2 separate regions of the Homo sapiens genome follow, and region 1 is linked to region 2. The links are contacts of gene promoters, found by promoter capture Hi-C in human tissues and cell types (Jung and others, 2019). All regions are on one chromosome and are shown on one strand. Each heading gives the region's core, a stretch centred on a gene start or on the middle of the fragment in contact. The rest is flanking DNA. Distances are from core to core; before and after follow the strand shown.

The links. Contacts are between HindIII fragments. The study calls those that stand out against the background at their distance.
Region 1: a fragment that was not itself captured here is called in contact with the fragment with the promoter of SNX13 in region 2 in 1 of the 25 tissues and cell types used here (hippocampus).

The regions. Positions count from the first base shown.
Region 1 is chr7:17,689,449-17,693,764 of GRCh38, reverse strand. No RefSeq gene overlaps it. Among named protein-coding and RNA genes, the nearest start is that of LINC02889, 130 kb to the right of the region's middle. The HindIII fragment of the contact is 6,266 bases long and covers 1-4,316 here.
Region 2 is chr7:17,938,592-17,942,569 of GRCh38, reverse strand. SNX13 (sorting nexin 13) reads left to right here and starts at 2,076. Exons shown (of 26, transcript NM_015132.5): 1 at 2,076-2,286. The coding sequence starts at 2,275. The HindIII fragment of the contact is 14,565 bases long and covers 1-3,978 here.

The sequences.
Region 1 (4,316 bases), core at 145-2,644, 250 kb after region 2:
AGACTCCGTCTCAAAAAAAAAAAAAAAAAAAGAGTAATAAAGGATCATTGTTCAGCCTTGACAAGACAGGCAATAAGACCAAAATTATTCCCAGAGGCAATAGTTATTAAAGCTAAAGCTTTCTATTTGAAAAAAAAGTTTTTGAGTATGTTTTTGAAAAATTTTACAAATACATAAAAACTTGTAAATGAATGTTCATAGCAGGATTTTTCATCTTATCTAAAAGGTGGAAACAATCTAAATGTCATCCATGGATGGATGGATAAGCACAATGTGGTATGTTCATACAGTGGAATGTTATTTAGCCATCAAAGGCATAAAGTACTGACACGTGCTACAATGGGGGTGAACGTTGAAAACAAAAGTGAAAACAGCCAGATATAAAAGGCCACATTTTGTATGATTCCACTCACATGAAATGTCCAGACAAGGTAAATCCATAGACAAAATATAGATTATTGGTTGCCACAGCTGGGAAAAGGAGGGAATTGAGGTGATTACTAATGGTTAAAGGGTTTCTCTCAGGTAATGAAGAGGTTCTCGAGTTAGTGGATATGGCTGCACAAGTGAATATACTAAAAAAAAAATCGCTGAATTGTACACCTTAAAAGAGTAAACTTTTATGGCAAATGAACTATATTTCAGTAGTGATAACACCAAAACAGCAGCAACAGCTACAACAACAAACTTGAAAAGAGAATATGGGAAGAGTTAGGCTAAAGGTTTCAATGACCTCCTGGGCTGGAAGACTTTTGCACCCCAACTTTGCAGAAGGAGATCAGTTTGAAAGATTGCTCACGTCTTCATGATGAAGCATTGTGAGATCCAAGCCGACTTTGGTGGAGGATTTGTTCTTGAGAGGGAGCAGAGAGGAAACAGCGGAGGTTACTCAGCAACAGGTACCTTCAAATCCCACTTGTATTTGGGACCAGAAAGATCCTTGCTTTTGCTTCAAGGCTTTGCTCAGTCCATCCAAAAATTCCCCACCTTTAAAAGACTGGGCAATTGAAAGTGACCACCTCTGAATTAGAAACAAATGAAATGAGCAGAATAAGGTTCATGGAGCTATAGATGCCAGAGAGCATAGAAGTAGTCTGCAAAGGAAAGTCCTAGATGTCAGCGGGGCCTAGTGTAATCTGCTTGATATCTTCTCCCTACTCTGAGGCATGAGAGGGATGAGACCTATCTCCAGGTTGTCACCTTATAACTTACATTGTGGGAGGCCATTCTTCTGCTGCACTGTTGCTCTTGTGGTCAGTTGTGTTGATGCTATGAGTTCTGCTTCTGGTTTTTCCAAGAACACCACTCCTTTGATCTTAGCCTTCACCCTCTGTAGCTTTGGGGCCTAGTGGAAAGAGATGGCTTTAGAAATCAGAAATACTGATTGTAAAACAACCTCTGCTTATCCGTGATACCTACACTGGAGTCTACCAACCACAGTGTTGCAAATGCATTGTGGTGGTGCTTCAAACTGTGGATCTCTCTAACCCTTGGGGTCATTCAGAAACTGGGTGGCTGAGACTCCCAGGAACAGCACCTTTGGCTGTTAGCTGGCTTGCTCAGGGTGCCTCAGAGGGCAAACCTAGCAGGGTGAGGCCTGCACAATACCAGTTGGTGAGCACTGTTAGCTACATCAGCACTCATGGCTCCCCGTCAACACTGTGCACTGCCAACAGGAGCTCTGACACCAGGATGTCTCCAGCAGCCAGGGACAGGCAGAACCATGCCCATATTGTGGAAATGTGGCCGATGGTTTGTAGGGGGCAGGGAAGGGACATGTTCCCAGTGTCCAGATATGCCCAGAGTTTGGCCAAGGTGTGGACAGTTAGGAGTTGGATGTGGTGCTGGGGGAGGGATTCTGGCTGGGGACTCCTGAGGGCACTGACCCACATGGCAGTCTCCCATTTTTCTCTTCGTATGTATATATATAATAATTCTGTCCCAATTTGGTTGATGCGCTATTTTTATAAGATTCCAATTCATAGGACGATGATTCTTTCTTTTGAGATGGAGTCTCGCTCTTTCACCCGGGCTGGAGTGCAGTGGCACCATCTCGGCCCACTGCAATCTCTGCCTCCCAGGTTCAAACAGTTTTCATACCTCAGCCTCCTGAGTAGCTGGGATTAACAGGCATGTGCCTCCATGCCTGGCTAATTTTTGTATTTTTAGTAGAGATGGGGTTTCACCATGTTGTCCAGGTTGGTCTTGAACTCCTTGGCCCCCAAAGTGCTGGGACTACAGGCGTGATCCACTGCACCCCACCCATAGAAGGATGGTTCTTCTAACAACACCTGCAGCTTTTGCAGATTAGAACTTCATTGTTATCTGGAAATATTTGATATAAAAATTCTATTAAAGCCAAAGTCCATTTGCCTTATTTTGATCAAATTAATATTACTCTTGTCCATGAAAGAAAGGAAGAATTGTACCAAAACATACTGTTCCCAAATGACCAGTTTTGACGTGTGCCCTACTGTCGAAAGGGATGTGAGGAAAGAGAAAGTTCCAGACTTTCTGAGCCTCAATTTTCTCACCTGCAAAATAAACATAATAATTCATAACTAATTTAGGCTAGTGCTCAAGGGTGAATCTATTCTCCTTTCCATGCCCTAAAATATTTAGGTTTTTTGATTAAGACATAAAAAAATTCAGAATTTCATAAAACAGGAATCTGGTAGGAGTTTTTTCAACTAAGTCCTTTTTATTTTATACTTAAGGTAACATGAATTAAGAGCAGGCATTGCTCATAGTGGTTTCTCAGCCTTCTGCTGGTGAAGTTTTCACCTCTTCGTTTTACATGTTGAAACAGTGTAAATCTGTCAACCCTACAATCTTGGGAGGCAGACATGGAGATATCCGCAGGCCAGCTCCAGGTATAGGGTCTGTTTCCTGCTTCCCCCCAGGGTAAGGTGTCCACCTTCTTCCTTTGTACTCAGGTTAATCTACAGTGATGGTATCTTGTTATAAATGCTTCACTTTCTCATTTGGTCCTCCTCTGAGCCATGTGCTTGGTAAAACTATCACAACACAGGACAAAACAAAGACTGAAGCAATCACATACTTTCTACTCCTCCTTTGATTTATTTTATATAAATTATCTCTTGGGACTGGAATGGTCCAAGCCTTGGGATTCTGTGTATTCAGGTCATGTCAAGTTCACTCGTTCCCCATACAAAGGGAGAATTGTCAAATGGCAGAAAGCTAAGAAGCCTTGACCTACAAGGACATACACATACAAGGATTCTGTGACAGACCATCTTGCTGGGAACAACATTGCAGGGTTATGATGAGAATCAAATGTGGTTATATGTATTAGGGGGCTGGAAGAGGCATGCCCTTCTCTGGGCATTGTAACTCTCCCGCCCTGAACCCAGAGGAGAGAAGAGGTTATAGACCACAACGAGAAGCTTGTTTTCCTACCTAAAAAATGGTTCCCTTTTCTGAGGACTACTCAAGCAGAATGGCTGGTGTAATGAGAAGGAATGTTACCACAATGCTGACTCATGGCCTCAGGTCACCCGTCAGAGTGTGCAGCATGAGGACAACCAGACAGATTCAGCCAGAAACACCCACCATGCTAGTGGTGCTCAGGGCCAAGAATAACTCTAGAAAAGACTTGCTAAACCACACGCCCTATTCTGGTCTTTCTACCCTACAGGTGGTTTCATCAGCTCTAGAAACTTACAGTAGTCTCAGGGGACACAGGAGTGGGAGCTTGAGGGAAAGTCTTTCAATGGAGCAAAGTAAGAGTGTTAAAGAATGTAAATATTCCTGCTTAAATCTTGGAATCACACACCAGCAAGAATCACCTTAAGTACATTAATACTTACTAATGCATAAAAGGTTTATTCTAATTTACCCACGTTTCTTCCAAGGAGATAATTTTTTAGGTGTTGACATTGTTCCAAATTAGCCTGGAGCTGTGTTTGTAGTCACTATTTCATCAAGATAAAACAGACGATAATAGTCTCAGTAACCGAATCAAAACTTATCATCTTGAATTTGGATGATGGACAGGAGTTTCATCATGCATGTTAGTGCTATTACCTGCTGGGTAAGGAGTGTGGGCCAAGTGTGTTGTAATTAAGGTGCCAATGACCTTGACTGTTCTGTGAACCAATGTCAACTATAAATTAAATCTATTTGGTGTGTGCTGAAGGTCTTGTTGGGAATTTTTCCTTTCACAGATGGATGACCTTCGTATTTGGCTGTCCTAGGTGCTGAAGGAGCCTCCTATCATTCCTATTGTATCATATAAATTGAAGAGGCATTAATTTTATTCTTCAGTACAAGGTGTAAGGCATATCATGTTTCTT
Region 2 (3,978 bases), core at 827-3,326:
ATGACTTTTAAGCAAAGATTGGACAGAAGTGGAAGATCTAGCCATGCAGGTATTTGGTGGAAAGATCTTTGCAGATAGAAACTATACACAGTGTAAGGGCCTCAGGGCAAGAAGATGCCTTGGTGTTACAGAAGCAGGGAGCAGGTCTGTGTAACTGGAACAAAGTGCTTAGCAGAAATGAGGTCAGAGGGGTGGAGGTGAGGTAGGACTTGGGAGGCCAGCTAGCATAGGATTTTTAGGTTGCAGAAAAGACTCAGGCTGAGAAAATTAGGAAGCCATTGGAAGAGCGACTACTTTTGGTTTCCTTGTAAGTCTGTAGACAAACTTCTGAAAGTTAAAGGCATATTCATGTCATATCACAGATTGGTTCAATACTCAAGTGTCAACACTTAATGCCTTGCTTCTAGAAAAGATAAAAAGATGTAGTAAATAAAACTGAATACTCAAGCCAGACAACTACATTGCTGTTTTAATTTACTAGCTGGTATCTTAAATATTAATGAACCTCCTTCTCTGTTTTCTTATTTACAGGTTGGAACACTATCTTTTTCCAGGTTCCTTGTTGTCTCTAGTATCTCTTGGTATCCTTTGATACCTCAGTCCAGGTAGGATTTCCATGCTCATTTTCTATTTGTGGCTTCATCTGTCAATACCAGTAACACATTTTATTGTATTGCAGAGGTCAGAATTTTGCTGGTCCAGCAATGTGGAAATGATGTACAAAATGCAGATTAAAACAACAAGAAAAACTACTTTGCTTCAATTAGTTGAATTGAGCAAAATCAGTTTTTCTTGAATTTTTTGCATGACTGCTTAAATGAACCGTTTTGTTTCCTTGACACGATAGAGATAATACAAGGTTTGCAATGCCCTTATTGTTTTGAGACTGTAAGAGTAATACATTAAGTAAATTTCATTTAGCACAACAGTACTATTGTTAAATGGAGGGAAAAGATTCTGGTAAAAGGGAAGAAACTCCTGGCTTTAGTTTTCTAAAATGCTTTTGTACCTCTTGTAAGAATGACATGGAGGTGTTTTTAATGTCAAGTCTGAAAATTTGCTTTTCAATTTACTTGGAAACTGGTTTCTAATACAAAACAGGGTAGCACACTTTCCCAGCATGTTCAGGTAAACTACTTTCATCACAATTCAGGTAGAAGTGACTGCCTTTAATTCCGTACATCGCAAACCATCTAGTGGTAGATCTAGAATGGCGTCAGTCTCAGGGACTTCTATGCACATTGAGTTCCAGAGTTCAATTCCATTTAAGTTGGGACTATTTACAATGACATTTGCTGAAATTTGCTCACCTTGATATACAAGCATATTGTATTAAGCAGCTAGTAAACCTGTGGAGATAGCAGGTAAAACGTAAAGCCTGTTTTACGTTTTTTTAGAGGTGCATTACTTGTAGCATAACTAAACCTTCATTGTTAGGCAGGTGCTGGCCAATTACATCAGCAAGTCCTAACTCCGCTAGGATCGGGGTAAAGCCGATAAGCCGCATCATATCTACAACCTGTCTCGGACCCCTGTAAAGAACTCACTGAGGATTGGTAGGGACAAAGGGAAGTTTCTGTCAAAGTTTAGGAGAAAAGGGCCGCGCAGGGAGCTGTTTCAAATAACACTTAAATCCCAGGAGAAGAAAGCCGAACCCCAACTCTTCGGTCGCCGCGGGGCCAGGGAGACGCGAGAGGGAAGTTTTTCTAAAGGAAATCTGCCGCCTTGTCCCCAAGACCAGCGAGGTCCGCAGCGCCATCAGTCAAGTGTCGGCCTCTGGCATTTTCTCCTCTCCCCAGGGCGGGCCAACGCTAGTGGGCGGTGGATGATGCGCCGGCCCCAAGGGCGCGCACGTCCATTCCCGGAAGGCTCGGGCGCTGGGGCCCCTCTGCACTCCCAGCGGTCCCAAGTTGGCCCAGGCGCCCGGTCCCGGGGTCCTACAAGTCAGCGCCAAGCCGACTGCCGACAGCCTACCTCCGCTTCTCCGCGCGCCGGCGCTATGGAGACGGTCACGAGACGCCAGCAGCCCCTGCGCCCGCCAATGGGAACGCACGTTGCAGCGAGACGCGGACGTCGCTCTTCCAAGATGGCGGCGCGTCCGTCGCGAGCGACCGGGCCGAGGGGAGGCCAGCGAAGCCGAGTAAAACCGCCGCCCGGGAGAAGACTGAAGGAGCAGTTGCCGCCGTTGGCGGCGGCCCGAGCAGTTTTCGCTGCTGCTACGGCTGTTGCCATGAGGCGAGGCTAGGGAGGACCTCACTTCCCCGGGGTGTAATAATGTTAACTGAGGTAAGCGGCGACGGTGGCCAGTGTTTACCTGTGAAATGGGGAAGGGGCCGGCGCCAGCCCGTCAGAGAACATCATCTGTACGGAAGGTGGGCCTGACCCTTCGCCGTGGGCTCCAGGGCCCGAGGAGCAGCGGGGATCCTACAAGTGCCCTCAGAGTAGGAGCTGTGCTGACTCAACAGAGTCCCACCACCTCCGGCTGCCAGTGCCTCGCCTTTCGCAGTTGCCACTTGCCACTCGCCCCTGGCACTGGTCTCCCTCCTGCTGTCACTCCCTTCTAACTCATCGCTCCCTTCTTCGTGTCCCCTTACACGCTACTCTGTGGCAGCGTTGGCCTTTCCACGTTACTGCTGGTTCTTGTGATCCTATGGTTTGCCCTAGGTCTCCTTTCTCTGGTCCCTGGGCTCCAGGGCCCTCCGCCTCCGAGCTCGGTCAGCACCCTGGGGTTGTTGCTCGGCCCGACCGGTTTGTTTCCCACCCTCTACTTTGACTGCTTCATGAAGTGGACTTTTTTATCTCAAGCTGCACATGTATGGCTCAGTTGGGTCATCCCCCTCCCCCACATCCATCACCTTTTCGGTTAAATCGTGGTCATCACAAAGTTCAGTTTAGCATCTGCCACCTTGATTTGCGTGTGGCCCCCTTGTTACTCCCTATGGAATAGTTTTTTTCTTTGGACCTGAAATGGAAGTAGGGCAACTATGACGAACCAATCAATTTCCCTTTTCTAGTGCCTAATGGGCATTGCAAAAAGCCGACTTTTTGAAGAAGTAGAGTTTGCCTTTACTAGCAACACTTTAAGGGGAAGAACTAAATCGGTGCAACTAGGTACTTGACCCAGGTTAGCCCAGTTATGTGTTGTAGTATCTGCAGGTGTAGGTGTCACTGAACATAAAATACTGAACCTTGTGATTTGATGAAATACCTTTTTCGAAGCCTTTCACTTTAAGTACTGTGAGGATCCTGACGTGAGGAACTGACCGGATTGGGCATTTTTATGGGCTGAACTGAATAGGAAACAGTTTTAGTGGGCAATGGGAAGTATTCCTACATGGGCCAAAAAGGAAATACAAACATTTGTAGGTGAGTGGCTTTTATTTTGTGAAAAGTGATGGTAAAGCACGTACTTGCCTGAAATTTCAGGTCCTTGGAACGTGACTAACTTTGAGGAACTTTATACTTTGCTGTTTGTACTTAATCTAAGCACAGAGCCTGGCATATGATAAATACTTACTGGTTGATTGTAACTTCTACAGTACGTATTTTTAGTTGTTTGAAGTTCATTTTATATTTCTAAATTCTACAGATTTTTCATTCTTGGAGTTAATTGAGATTATGGTTATAGCATAAGTTTGTGTTGTGATTAGCAGTAATAGATTAGAAAAAAGAGTTATAAGTAGCAGAAGTTTCATTTTTACCTTAAGTGTGATATTTTAGTGGGAACAGTTAGCCTTATAATAAGTGTTTAGTGTTGTCTCTAATGTGTAATATTATATGATATGATCTTTTCCTTAAACTTAGCTTATGTTAACATGTTTCAGAGTTTTAATACTTTCAAATGAACTACTTGTGTGTCTGCCAGTAAAATGATTTGGAAAGATGGAGCTTTCTCAGCTTCTGTATTTTAATGCAATTTTGCGTTTTAGGGAAATATTTTAAACAGTAAATCAATGATAATATTAAGTAAACTGTACT